Linked DNA regions of Homo sapiens: region 1 is linked to region 2. Evidence: promoter capture Hi-C in 16 types of primary human blood cells and fetal thymus (Javierre and others, 2016). All regions are on one chromosome and are shown on one strand. Each heading gives the region's core, a stretch centred on a gene start or on the middle of the fragment in contact. The rest is flanking DNA. Distances are from core to core; before and after follow the strand shown. Region 1 overlaps SNX1 (sorting nexin 1). Region 2 holds the start of APH1B (aph-1B gamma-secretase subunit).

Region 1 (5,994 bases), core at 1,735-4,234, 850 kb before region 2:
TCTGGTTAGTTGAGCTGGCCTCAGAAGGTTCTGGGCGTCACACAGTGCTGGCAGTGATACCATGTCTTCTGTACTTTTTGTACTTAAAGTACCCTAAGATAAGGTACTTAAGTAGGTCTCTCCTTGTAAGCATATTCAAGTTCACATTCCTGACATTTCCAAAAAGGGAGGGAAAAATAACTGGTCAGAAAGAAACCTCAGAGCCATTCATATTTGATTGATTGTCTAAGAATATGACTGCCTGCTCACTCAGGATGGGGAAAAAACAGAAGATGGTCTATTCTCAAGGTGGGAAAATAAGCGACTCAGGAAAAGTTAAGAGATAATATGGAGGTGTGCAACTTCAATTTATTCACGTTTCATCTCTAACTCAATGGACTGTCTCGTCATTTAGACTCACTTTTCAGCTTTTCATTTGTCCTCACATTATTCAGGAAAATGGCTGCATGGCACTTACCTTTCTAAAGCGGCCCTCCGTTTTTCAAGAAATTCTGCAGAAGAAGAATCTTCCTTCCCAACTTTCACTTTTGTCATCCCTAGAATGGAATTTAAAAAGCAAAATAACCATAAATCATCATGAAGAGGATAAATCTTTTTTTTTTTTAAGTGTCAACAGGAGGAAAGGCAGTGAGGCTAGCACACAGCCTAAGGCCACTTCTATGTTATATGCAGGGATGAACAAAAGGTTCTTTACATGAGAGCCACTTTTGAAAACTAGTCTCTAAGTGCTGAAGGTTCTAAACTCTAGGACTTGCAGAGTAAACATTTTCTTAAAAAGGCGGCCATGGAACCCTGAGTACAAACATCAACTGATGTTAATGAAGAGGCTCCTGGCCGGGCGCAGTGGCACACACCTGTAATCCCAGCACTTTGGGAGGCCAAGGCGGGCGGACCACGAGGTCAAGAGATCAAGACCATCCTGGCCAACGTGGTAAAACCCTGTTTCTACTAAAAATACAAAAATTAGCTGGGCATGGTGGCGGGCACCTGTAGTCCCAGCTAAGCGGGAGGCTGAGGCAGGAGAATCTCTTGAACCCGGAAGGTGGAGGTTTCAGTGAGCTGAGATCGCGCCACTGCACTCCAACCTGGTGACAGAGCGAGACTCCACCTCAAAAACAAACAAACAAACAAAAACCAAAAAACCAACCAAACAAACAAACAAAATGAAGAGGTTTCTTCCTCTGACCCCTAATCCAATGTAGTCTATTTCAATCTGGAGGCAACCGCAATCATGTAAGACTCCTGAAGACCAACAGAAAACAAACGAACATCTCTGGAGGCTAAACCCAGAGCTCCTACTGCACCCAAGGAGAACATGCCAAAATATGCTATTTTTCTCTAGACCTCCAGTGTAGGAAAACACTGGAAATGTCTCTTTTCTAACCACAAGACTGTTAATAGAAGTAGTCTCATATACTGAACAGTGAGTGAATTTTGGAGAGAATGCAAAGGAAAACAATCCAAGTGGAATGAAAGACCACAGGCTTACCTATGAGGCTCTTCTCCGGGGGCGGAGGGACAATGAAGCCATTCTGAGAGTGCTTCTCGGAAAGCTTCTCATAAAGACCCAGAAAGTCACTAAATCTTCTTTTTACTGCAAACTGTTTGCTTCTGAACAATGGTAAGCTTGTCTTGGGGACAGGAAAAAACACAAGGCAATTTCATTCCAAATAGGGGATGGTATCTTGAAAGTCATCCTATTGACATTAAAGAAACCCATTTCCCAGATCCCTGCCCTTCAGTCACCTGGCAAATAACTTTCTCCAAGGCAGAGAGTCTTAAACTTTTTAAAACTATAGTTCCCCTTTGGCAGTCTGGGAGCCTAAGGAGCTCTTCTCAGAATAATGATTTTAAATGCAAAAAATATATAGGATTATAAAGGCAATCAATTAAATTCAAATACATCTGAAGCCATGGTGACCCTTGAGAAAAAAAAATTCAAATACAGTTTCATTCCCAGGTTAAGAACTCTTGTTCTAAAGAAAGAAATGTTCAGTTCTAGTTTAAAGCTAGAATTCTATAGTAACCAGTAACCCATTCATCTTTTATTGACTATTTTTTTTTGGAGACAGGATCTCACTTTGTTGCCCAGGCTGGAGTGCATTGGTGCGATCACAGCTTACTGCAGCCTCAAACTCCTGGGCTTAAGCGATCCTCCCACCTCAGCCTCCCAAGTAGCTAGGAATACAGGCACACGCTACCATGCCCAGCTCATTCTTCACTGCTTTTTTTTTTTTTTTTTTTTGAGATGGAGTCTCACTCTGTCACCCAGGCTGGAGTGCAGTGGTGCAATCTTGGCTCACTGCAACCTCCACCTCCCAGGTTCAAGCAATTCTCTTGTCTCAGCCTCCTGAGTGGCTGGGATTACAGGCTCCTGCCACCAGGCCCAGCTAATTTTTATAGTTTTTTAGTAGAGATGGGGTTTCACCATGTTGGCCGGGCTGCTCTCGAACTCCTGACCTCAGGTGATCCACCTGCCTCAGCCTCCCAAAGTGCTGGGATTACAGGCGTGAGCCACTGCGCCAAGCCTCATTGACTTATTTAAGGGTATTAGCTGCTGGAATTACAGCAGCCAAACTAAAGACAGACAAAAAGTGCTTCTAAGAAGGGGAAGCAGGTGATGAGCAGGGTGGGAATTGGATGAAATGTCTAAGCTGTAGACAGTAACCTCTAAAGTATCATAATCTAGAGCTCACAGGACGCAGGCCAACAAGTAGTAGAGAGACAATACAAAGCAGATTTCTACCAAAAAAGTTAGGGCTACATCACAATGAGAGTTCACTTTAAACTCACCAGATAGGCAAAATTTAAGGAGGTTGGCCTCACCAATTGCTGGCAAGGAAGTGAATCAATGGGAACTTTTATACACTGCTGATGGGGTACAAATTGGTACAAAGACTTTAAAAAACAGTTTGTATTCCTTGTGTCCAATATTTGCAGTACCTATGACCCACGGGAATTACTCCTGGTTACATACTCTAGAGAAATCCTTCTACGTGTGTACTAGAGATGTGCAAGAAAGTTCCCAGTTACAAAAACCAGAAACATGTTGACAGCAGAAAATGTTCACAACAGGAAAACATAAATATTTTGTGGTATATGAACTAACTACAGCCATGACCATCAAGGATGGGTGAGAGAAACAATGCTAAATAAAGCAAGCACAATTATCAGCATGATACTATTTTTTTTTTTTTTTTTTTGAGACAGAGTCTCCCTCTGTCGCCCAGGCTGGAGTGCAGTGGCGCGATCTCGGCTCACTGCAAGCTCCGCCTCCCGGGTTCACGCCATTCTCCTGCCTCAGCCTCCCCAGCAGCTGGGGCTACAGGTGCCTGCCACCATGCCCAGCTAATTTTTTTGTATTTTTAGTAGAGACAGGGTTTCCCTGTGTTAGCCAGGATGGTCTCGATCTCCTGACCTTGTGATCTGCCCGTCTCAGCCTCCCAAAGTGCTGGAATTACAGGCGTGAGCCACCGTGACCGGCCCCCATGATACTATTTTTATGAAACTCAAAACAAAGCAAAACAGTCATATATATATATATATATATATATATATATATGTAAAGATTTCTTATAAAGGAAATGAGAGACAACTCAGGAGAAAGGACACCTCTAAGGTATGAGGCAGGGGATATGATGGAAAAACACGCAGGTGGATCCAATGATACTCAACTTTAAGACTAGTGGTAAGTTTAGGGCTTCATTTATTATGCTTCCTAACTTGTATACAACATTGTATACATTTTGTATGCATTAATATTATATACAAAAGAAGAGCAGACTAGAGGGGCAAAAGGTTAAGTATTTAAAAAAGCTCTCTGAAACCTCAGAAGCATTGAAGATTTTAAAAGATGGTTTAGGGCAATCTGTGAATCTAGCTCCAAACCACATGGTTCTCTAAGAGGGATGGGGCTGTATCAGATATACCACGAGTTAATAGAATCACACTGAAATGTTAGCTTTCTGGAAGAGTATTAAAAAGACTCAGTCTGGAGTACCCAGATGAGATTACCAAGGGGATGCAGGCTTGCTCTATCTTGAGTAAACATGAAGATGTTGGCAAAGAAACAAAGGAGATACCCAGAAATAATCTGAATGATGACCTTGGTATAAGCACCAAAGTCTATGAAGATGGTCATCAGCAGGGTCACCTGGACTCACCTGTGTTGTAACTTTGTAGGCTACATATGCATTCATACCATCCCCTGTGAGAGAACAAGAAAGCAGAAGATTATCTTGTAAACCAAAGCAGTGCCAATCCAGCTAACATTTGACCAGGAATCATAAAAGCCATAGGAACCCTGGATAAGAAGGGATGCTTGTTTCATCTCCAAGCTTTATATGCAATCTTAGAATCCAGTTCCTACTTTGCCTCAGGGCCTCTGTGGCACATAGCAAGCCCCCATGGATGCTGGCTGAGCCCCAGTTTGAGTTACACAAGAGAGTCAGCCCTCTGTTCCAAAGCCAGGCCAGGCTCCATTTATACCCTCCACAAAGCAGCACTGGATACTGACAATCCATCAGTTGTTACCATGCCAATATTTGGGCTGGTTACACACATCTGTCCAAAACCAAACAATTCTCTTGCTGTATAAAGCAGGAGGAGAAGGAAGCAACTGATATAAAAGGAAACAAGTAGTTCTACCCTAGGCTAGCTCTGGGCTCGATTTGCTCTTTCAGAAATATCGTCACAACCCCCTCCATTGGTGCCGGGGGGGACACTGACCTCTCTGATCTAGCATGTTCACCAAGAGCAAAGGGTCTGGCAGGAAGACACTTTGGCTGCCTAATGTCACACAAATCTCCCTTTCCTGGAGCAATTATTTTTATGAAGAAGTCTTTGACTGTTAAATAATTTGGGATTCAAGCTATTGTTTTTCTCTGTGGTGATGTCCTGACCTAGACCACTTAAGGAGATAAAGATGCCATTGATATCCTGAGCACTGAAAAGACATATTCTGGAATCCAAACAGACACAGCTCCAGTGCTGGACTATGGTGTTTGGGGTTGGTTTTGTTCCCTGCCTCCCCCACCCTTGATTCCTTCCCACATCAAACCGGAAAACCTAGGTCAACAGTTACCAGCTGCTTAAGCCCCTGAACTGGTTCTGGGGTGAGGGGTGAGGGGCCAAGGGAAGGAAGAGCAGGCAGTACTGGATCAGCAGCTTCCCACATTACAACTTGGTTTCAGTAAGATGGCTGGAAATGCCTGCTTTTTGAAAAATTTACCAAGAATTTGAAGATTACACAGGAATACAGGGCTTGTCTGCTATACTTCCCCAGCCCCTACCAAAAGGGTGTATATAAAACAGAAACCATAAGCTAAACTTTAGAAATTATTTTATACTGATTACCAACTTTAGTTCTCTTCTAAACCACCTTATTAACATTACCCAATACTACTAAGGATGTTTACTACTGATAAAAGAAAAAAAAAAAAGAAATCTAAGTTTATTTTATAGAAGTAATATTCAAAATTTCATTCACAGCAGAATAGTTATGGTCAAATGTCCAAGAAGTCAATCCCATAATTTAGTGCCTGCAGTTAAGAAAGTCTAAATGCAAACACAGAGAAAACAGAAAAGCAGGATCTTCAGATATTTTGTTTCTCAGCTGCTTTTACTTAGGCAATGTACATGAAAAGAGACATACTGCATGTACATAGAGAGCACACAGATCTGCAAATAAGCTAGTAATACAAGGTTTTAAATTTACGTAAATTTCCAGAATAATTTCAGAGTTGAAGATAACATATGCAAATTACCAAGGCTCTAAAAAGCATATCCTGGTAAAAGTTGAATTCTAAATTATTTAGACGTGTGCAGGAACAAGAAGCACATGTTGAATAAACAGCCCACACAAACAGAATGCGTTGTTATAAAGATCAGGCCTTGAATATGAAAATATTTTAATTAGCTGGTTTCTTGGCATCAACATGACTAAGAATCTAGACTACAGGGCAAGGAGGTGAAAACTTATCACCAAGAGTGATT
Region 2 (5,828 bases), core at 2,775-5,274:
TCACGCTGATAATTCAGGTTTTAGAACATACAAGTCCTAAACTTTAAATTCTGTATTAGAAATTGTGTTTTTTTTTGTTTTTTTTTTTTTTTTTCAAAATTAGACCCATGGCATGAAAATGCATATGGGCCAATGATGTCACTGACAGGAAAACCCAGTGCAATGTGAGGCTGAGCTGTGAAGAGTACAGTGCCCAGTCAGGGGTACTACTTAGTCTGCACTGCAGAATACCATGCTGGGTTCTGAGCACAGGCAAAAACCAGGCGCTGACAAAAAGGGTCATGTCCACTGACCAAAAAGAACAAACAGCCTTTCTTTTGGAAAGGTTTGGAAGCCACAACCATGCCTGTTGAGGTCCAGGTGAAGAAATGAGGACTGTTCATTCTTGAAAGGGAGATAATTATAACCATGCAGCAGAGACTTCATTTACCTGGTACTTGAGTAAGGCAGCGGTCAGAAGGGAGTTTTTGTTTTTGCTTGTTTGTTTTTTTTTTAGACAGGGTCTGGCTCTGTCTCCCAGAATGGAGCACAGTGGTGCAATCACGGCTCACTGCAACCTCCGCCTCCTAGATTCAAGTGATCCTCCCACCTCAACCTCCCGAGGAGCTGGGACCACTATGCCCAGTTAATTTTTGTATTTGTTGTAGAGACAGGGTTTTGCCATGTTGCCCAGGCTAGTCTCGAAATCCTCAGCTCAAGCAATTGGCCTACCTTGCTTTCCCAAAATGTCAGGGTTACAGGCATGAGCCACCAAGCCCAGCAGAGGTAGATGTGGTTACCTTAATGATATTCTACAGTTAAAGCTTAAAATTGTAGAATGGTAGTAACTGCCACATACCAGAAACATTCAAACACAGCTAGATGTCCATCTGTTAGGGATGTTGTATTACCATGGAAATTTCAGTGTTACCTTTGATATTTATTTATTCCCATGTAATATTTCCAGGTACTAATGGGAATTTCATTTTTGAAACTTTTCTAAGATATGATTTTTGCTTCTAAGCAATGGCTTCCTGGATTTCAATTCCTAATTTAAATTCCTTCATTACGAAAAGGGAATTCAGTATCTGGTATTAAAAGCAAAGAGTAACAAATACAGAAAACCTAGCATATTGGCAAGAACAAGTTAACAGAAGCCTATGAAAAGAGTTGTTGTTGAGGTTCCTCTTGGTTATATCCACGAAATTCATGGACAGCCTTAATTACTTCATTTGTACAAATGAAAAAAGACAGCACATTTATCACTCTATTAAGACTTACTACATAATCAAAGCCAATTTCATGACTGCCTGAAAGGAAATATGGTTCCAAGTTCCAGCTGTGTTTCAAATCAGTGGTTTCATGTGAGGTCCTCGTGAGTCCTAGAGAAGACCTACTTTCTGGCCCAACAAGGGAACCCAAGGCATTTTTTAAAATGTGATTTTCTATTATAGATTTAAAACTACAGGAAATACCACAAAAGGAACTCCTGTTTTCCCCTACTAAAGTCAAAATAATGGAAGGCATGGTCTCCATAAGAATTATTTATCTTGGCCGGGTGTGGTGGCTCAGGCCTGTAATCCTAACACTTTGGGAGGCCAAGGTGGGCGGATCACTGGAGGTCAGGAGTTTGAAACCAGCCTGGCGAACATGGTGAAACCCTGTCTCTACTAAAATTACAAAAATTAGCCGGGCATGGTGGTGCACACCTGTAATCCCAGCTACTCGGGAGGCTGAGGCAGGAGAATCGCTTGAACCCAGGAGGCAGAGGTTGCCGTGAGCTGAGATTGCACCATTGCACTCCAGCCTGGGCAACAGGAGCGAAAACTCTGTCTCAAAAAAAAAAAAAAAAAGAATTAACTTAGGTGGTGGCAAAGAGAACATATACATTCTAAGCTGGAATGATTTCTGTAGTTGTTTTAATGCTTCCCTAGCTTGTTTGTCTCCATGACACTTACCTACTATACCAGTGTATTTCTTGTTCATTCATTTATTGTCTGTCTCTTCCTACTATAATATAAGCTCCATGAAGCCAGAGACTCTGTCTTTTAATCACTGATGTATCCCCAGTACCTAGGATAGTGTCTGGGATTGATTCTCAAGAAATATTTTTTTGAATAAAGGAAGAAAGGAAGGAAATAAGAAATTTCCACAAGATAAAAGAACACTCAAGATTTTCAGGCTGGAAATGTACCAATCTCTTGGCTTAGTACTATGTAGGAGGGCATAGATACAATACTATATTCACGTTTCAAATGACCAAATCATAACTAAAATCTAACTGGGGAAAAAAAAGGTAAGGCAGGTATTTAACTTACTTTAAGAGTTTATAATATGCAAATCGGAACATTTCTTGGATATAGACAGAGACAAACGCTCCAAAGATCAGCAGATATTTCTGTGTTGGTCCATCTTTGTTGTCAATAATGACTCTTGCCATGAACCAAACAAGGGACGAAATCAGTAGAGACACCAACCAGAAGAAAGCTCTGAAAAATACGGGAAAAAAAGTTACAAGTGAACATCAGTACAGGATTAATAATGTTTAAAAGCAGGAAAAAAAAAAAAACCTGCTTGAGAAGGAAGAGATTTCTTGACGTTTCAATAAGGAAAAGAAAGTCCTCATAAAGTGATACTCTGATCAGTTGTTCTTAACGGTGCATTTTCCTTGGTGAGACAAACGTGTCCAAGAGGAAGGCTGAGGTTTCCCAACAATTACTTTTTTCAATGACCCTGCTACTTGCAAGTACATCTGCAGACTCTATCTGCCAAGGACTATCTAGCTAGAAACTTGGTTATTTGCTACTCTTTCTAATCAATGCTCTGCCCATTGATGAGCCAAAACAAGAAAATACACAACCCTGATTACTGCAATTTTCATATTCTTAAAACTTACAAGAAATTATGGATTTACTGATCAGATATCTGCAAAGATGAGTATCTTTTCCAGAAAAATATCTACATCTCTATTAATAAAGTGACTGGTATAAAATTCAACTTGAAAACCTGTGTTCTGATCTGGATCAGTATCCAAGCCCTCCAGGTCTTACAGCACCCCTGGGGATTCTAATGATTATAGCAAGCTTTACAGACCCTTCCCAAATCTCTATTATTTTTAAAATGACATGCAGCGAAGCACTTTCAATACGTTTGTGGGAGGTGAAGAAACGCAGAAAAGCGGGAATCATTGGCCTAGTCTGGTGCCAAGAGAGACTCATCAGAGGAGGGGGGATGTGGTATGTGCAAGTAAGAGGCAGGTGATGACTGCGATGGGACACCAGAGTCCGGTATTTACCAAGCTCCCAGAAGGAGACGCACAGTCAGGTGCTTCGGTGTTTTTACAGGTTTCCACCCTTCGGCTGCACAACGGAACCATCCAAAAGGAGCTTAAATTTTTTTTTTTTTTTCTGAAGCCCGAATCCCATCCCCTAGACATTCTGATTCAATGGATCGGGGTGGGGGTGGGCATCGGCATGTTTTAAAGCACCTGGCCACAGGTGATTCTAATAGGCGGAAGTCGCGCACTACTATCCTAAACGCCAATGGTTTTTAACCCTTTGGGGATTACACATGCCTTTGAGAATCTGAGGGAAATTAGGGACTCCCCCTCCAGAAAATGAAGGATGCATATATGAACTTATCCATAATTTTTTTATACAACTTTAGTAGCTTCACGGATCACTAAACCCCACCCATGAGCCCCAGGCAAAAGGCCCTGACCCCCAGTGTGCGCTTCTTCCTAAGAGGGCGAGGCGCCTTTGGGGAGCCGGATCTCCGCTCTCCCCCTCTCAACCCTCCTCCCGTCTGAAACGCAACAAGGTCGAGCCGCGCGGTGGGGGCGCCGAGGGTCGCGGGTAACCCCAGCGGGGGAGGGGAGCCCCGGCGTCCGGGTTTCCCGACGCGACCGCCTCACCCGGCGATGAGGAAGATGATACGCAACGGCTCGGTGGCGATGGTGAAGACATAAAGGGCGAGCGCAGGCCCGAAGGCAATGAAGGCGCAGCCGAAGAACACGGCCGCAGTCATGGCCACCGCGGAAACCGACCCGGGGGCCCGTTGGGGACGCGAGATGCTCCCGGCGCGGGCGGGGTTCGGTGGGTGGGGCTCGGGGTGGGGGGCTAAGCGGGACGCGGGGGGCGGGGCGCGGCTCATGGGCAGGCACGGGGACGGGGGCGGGGCTCGGGGGCGGGGCACGTGGGGGCGGGGGCGGGGCTCGGAGGCGGGGTACGTGGGTCGCGGGGCGAGGCGGGGCGTGGGGGTAAACGCTAGGGCCTGGGGGACTGGGCGGGGCGTGGGCTGAGGGCGCCGGGCGCAGGGGCGGGCTCAAGGCGGTGAGCGCGGACCCCACCGTTGGGCCCTCCGCCCTACCGGGTGTCCGGAAGCGCCAGGGCCACGCCGCAGCTCCTGCTCCCGAGGCGGGCGTCCTCGGCGACGTTAGGGCCCCAGCCATCGCCGCAGCCCCACAGATACACTCCGATCGGGTTCCAGTGCCGGCCGCGAGGTGGTTAAGAGAAGGGAAGCTCCCTAGCCCACCTTCGAGCCGCATGCACCGAGAACAGGCAGAGATTCCAAGTCAACCAAAGAGACTAAACAAAAATGTAGCGCAGGAACAAGCAGGATTCCTTTTTAAATAGGTTTTTTTTTTTTTTTAAGCACATTTTACCGTTTGGATAGTTGCGGGAACTTCGTACTCCATCCTGTATAAAACCTAGGCTGGGATAGCAGTGACCCCGGGGATAACCCACAGATGGTAAAATGATGAAAGAGTGGTGGAAGAAGCTGCCCTTCTCAGGGCTGTTTCAGCCAAATGGTTTTTATTTTTTTCCCAATTCTTCAAAAGGGTTGTTTTTGCAGGCATTCTGTGACCACCCTACAAGCAATAGTAACATCTCCCTGCTCCGTCTTCTCACAGTCGTCCATTTCACTTGCTTATTTTTCTTCCCCGTTAAAACGCGAACTCCTGGGGGACAGGGACTTTGCTTTGCTCTTTGTTGTTTCCTCAGCACCTAGAAGTTCACTAATATCTGTTCAATAAGTGAAATAATTTAAAAGGTGGAAGTTATAAACATCTATATTAACAATTTCTGAAAGGTTTAAAAATTAAAACTTAAGTTCTCTGATCATTCACATCCAAGTTAGATTTTTCTTTATGTTGAATAATACTTCGTCGGTTATTTTGATCAGTGTGCCTGACACAGGTAAGTGCTATGTAAGTATTAACCACTCCTACATAATGTCCATCATGAATAAAGATTTTGGCAATCCACATTTAAAAAAACACCAGTAGACAAATGTTGGGACCTGACAGATGTTTTGCAGCTCGCCCCTGAAAATGCACCTTCAAATAATACAACTGCAGGTATTTAATTCTTACAGAAAAACATTACCTTTGCCCATTTAAAAGTCATATATATTTCCATTCACTCCCACAGAATACTTCTTCAGATTCCAGTGATTGTATTTTGAATGGTCAGATCCCAGCACAATACCTATCAAAACTCGGGTCGAGACAACAGTTCAGAGTGATAGATCTGCTTTGTAAAGATATGGAAAATGAGCTTCCAGACTGGAGGTCCTCAGTGCAACGCAGGCATGAGATGGCAGTGGCCTGATTCAGGGAATTAGCAGGACTCTGGAGGGAAGCAGACAAATTTAATAGAAGTTTAGGAATTGTACAAACAGAATTTAGTGACTAATGAGCTACATAGAGTGAGATGGGGGAAGAGTCAAGGATGAGGGCTTCTAGAGGGTTCGGGCTTAAGTGGATGCTGTGGAGACAGGAGGAGGAGAGAATATGGCAAAGTAGACACGATAATGAGTACCATTTTGTTATTTTGTTGTTACTGTTT

Evidence for each region. The method cuts DNA at HindIII sites, captures the fragments that hold promoters and counts their contacts. A CHiCAGO score of 5 or more calls a contact.
Region 1: a fragment that was not itself captured here is called in contact with the fragment with the promoter of APH1B in region 2 in 1 of 17 cell types (naive B cells); the score reaches 5.0 in naive B cells.

What each region holds. Positions count from the first base shown.
Region 1 is chr15:64,121,716-64,127,709 of GRCh38, reverse strand. SNX1 (sorting nexin 1) reads right to left here. Exons shown (of 15, transcript NM_003099.5): 5 at 4,164-4,207; 6 at 1,490-1,631; 7 at 458-536. Among named protein-coding and RNA genes, the nearest start is that of SNX22, 27 kb to the left of the region's middle. The HindIII fragment of the contact is 2,711 bases long and covers 1,629-4,339 here.
Region 2 is chr15:63,275,801-63,281,628 of GRCh38, reverse strand. It overlaps APH1B (aph-1B gamma-secretase subunit), which reads right to left and starts at 4,024. Exons shown (of 6, transcript NM_031301.4): 1 at 3,893-4,024; 2 at 2,298-2,468. The coding sequence starts at 4,005. LOC124903504 (a long non-coding RNA gene) reads right to left here. Exons shown (of 2, transcript XR_007064674.1): 2 at 4,777-5,611. RefSeq lists silencers at 3,718-3,997, 4,078-4,497. The HindIII fragment of the contact is 9,433 bases long and covers 3,065-5,828 here.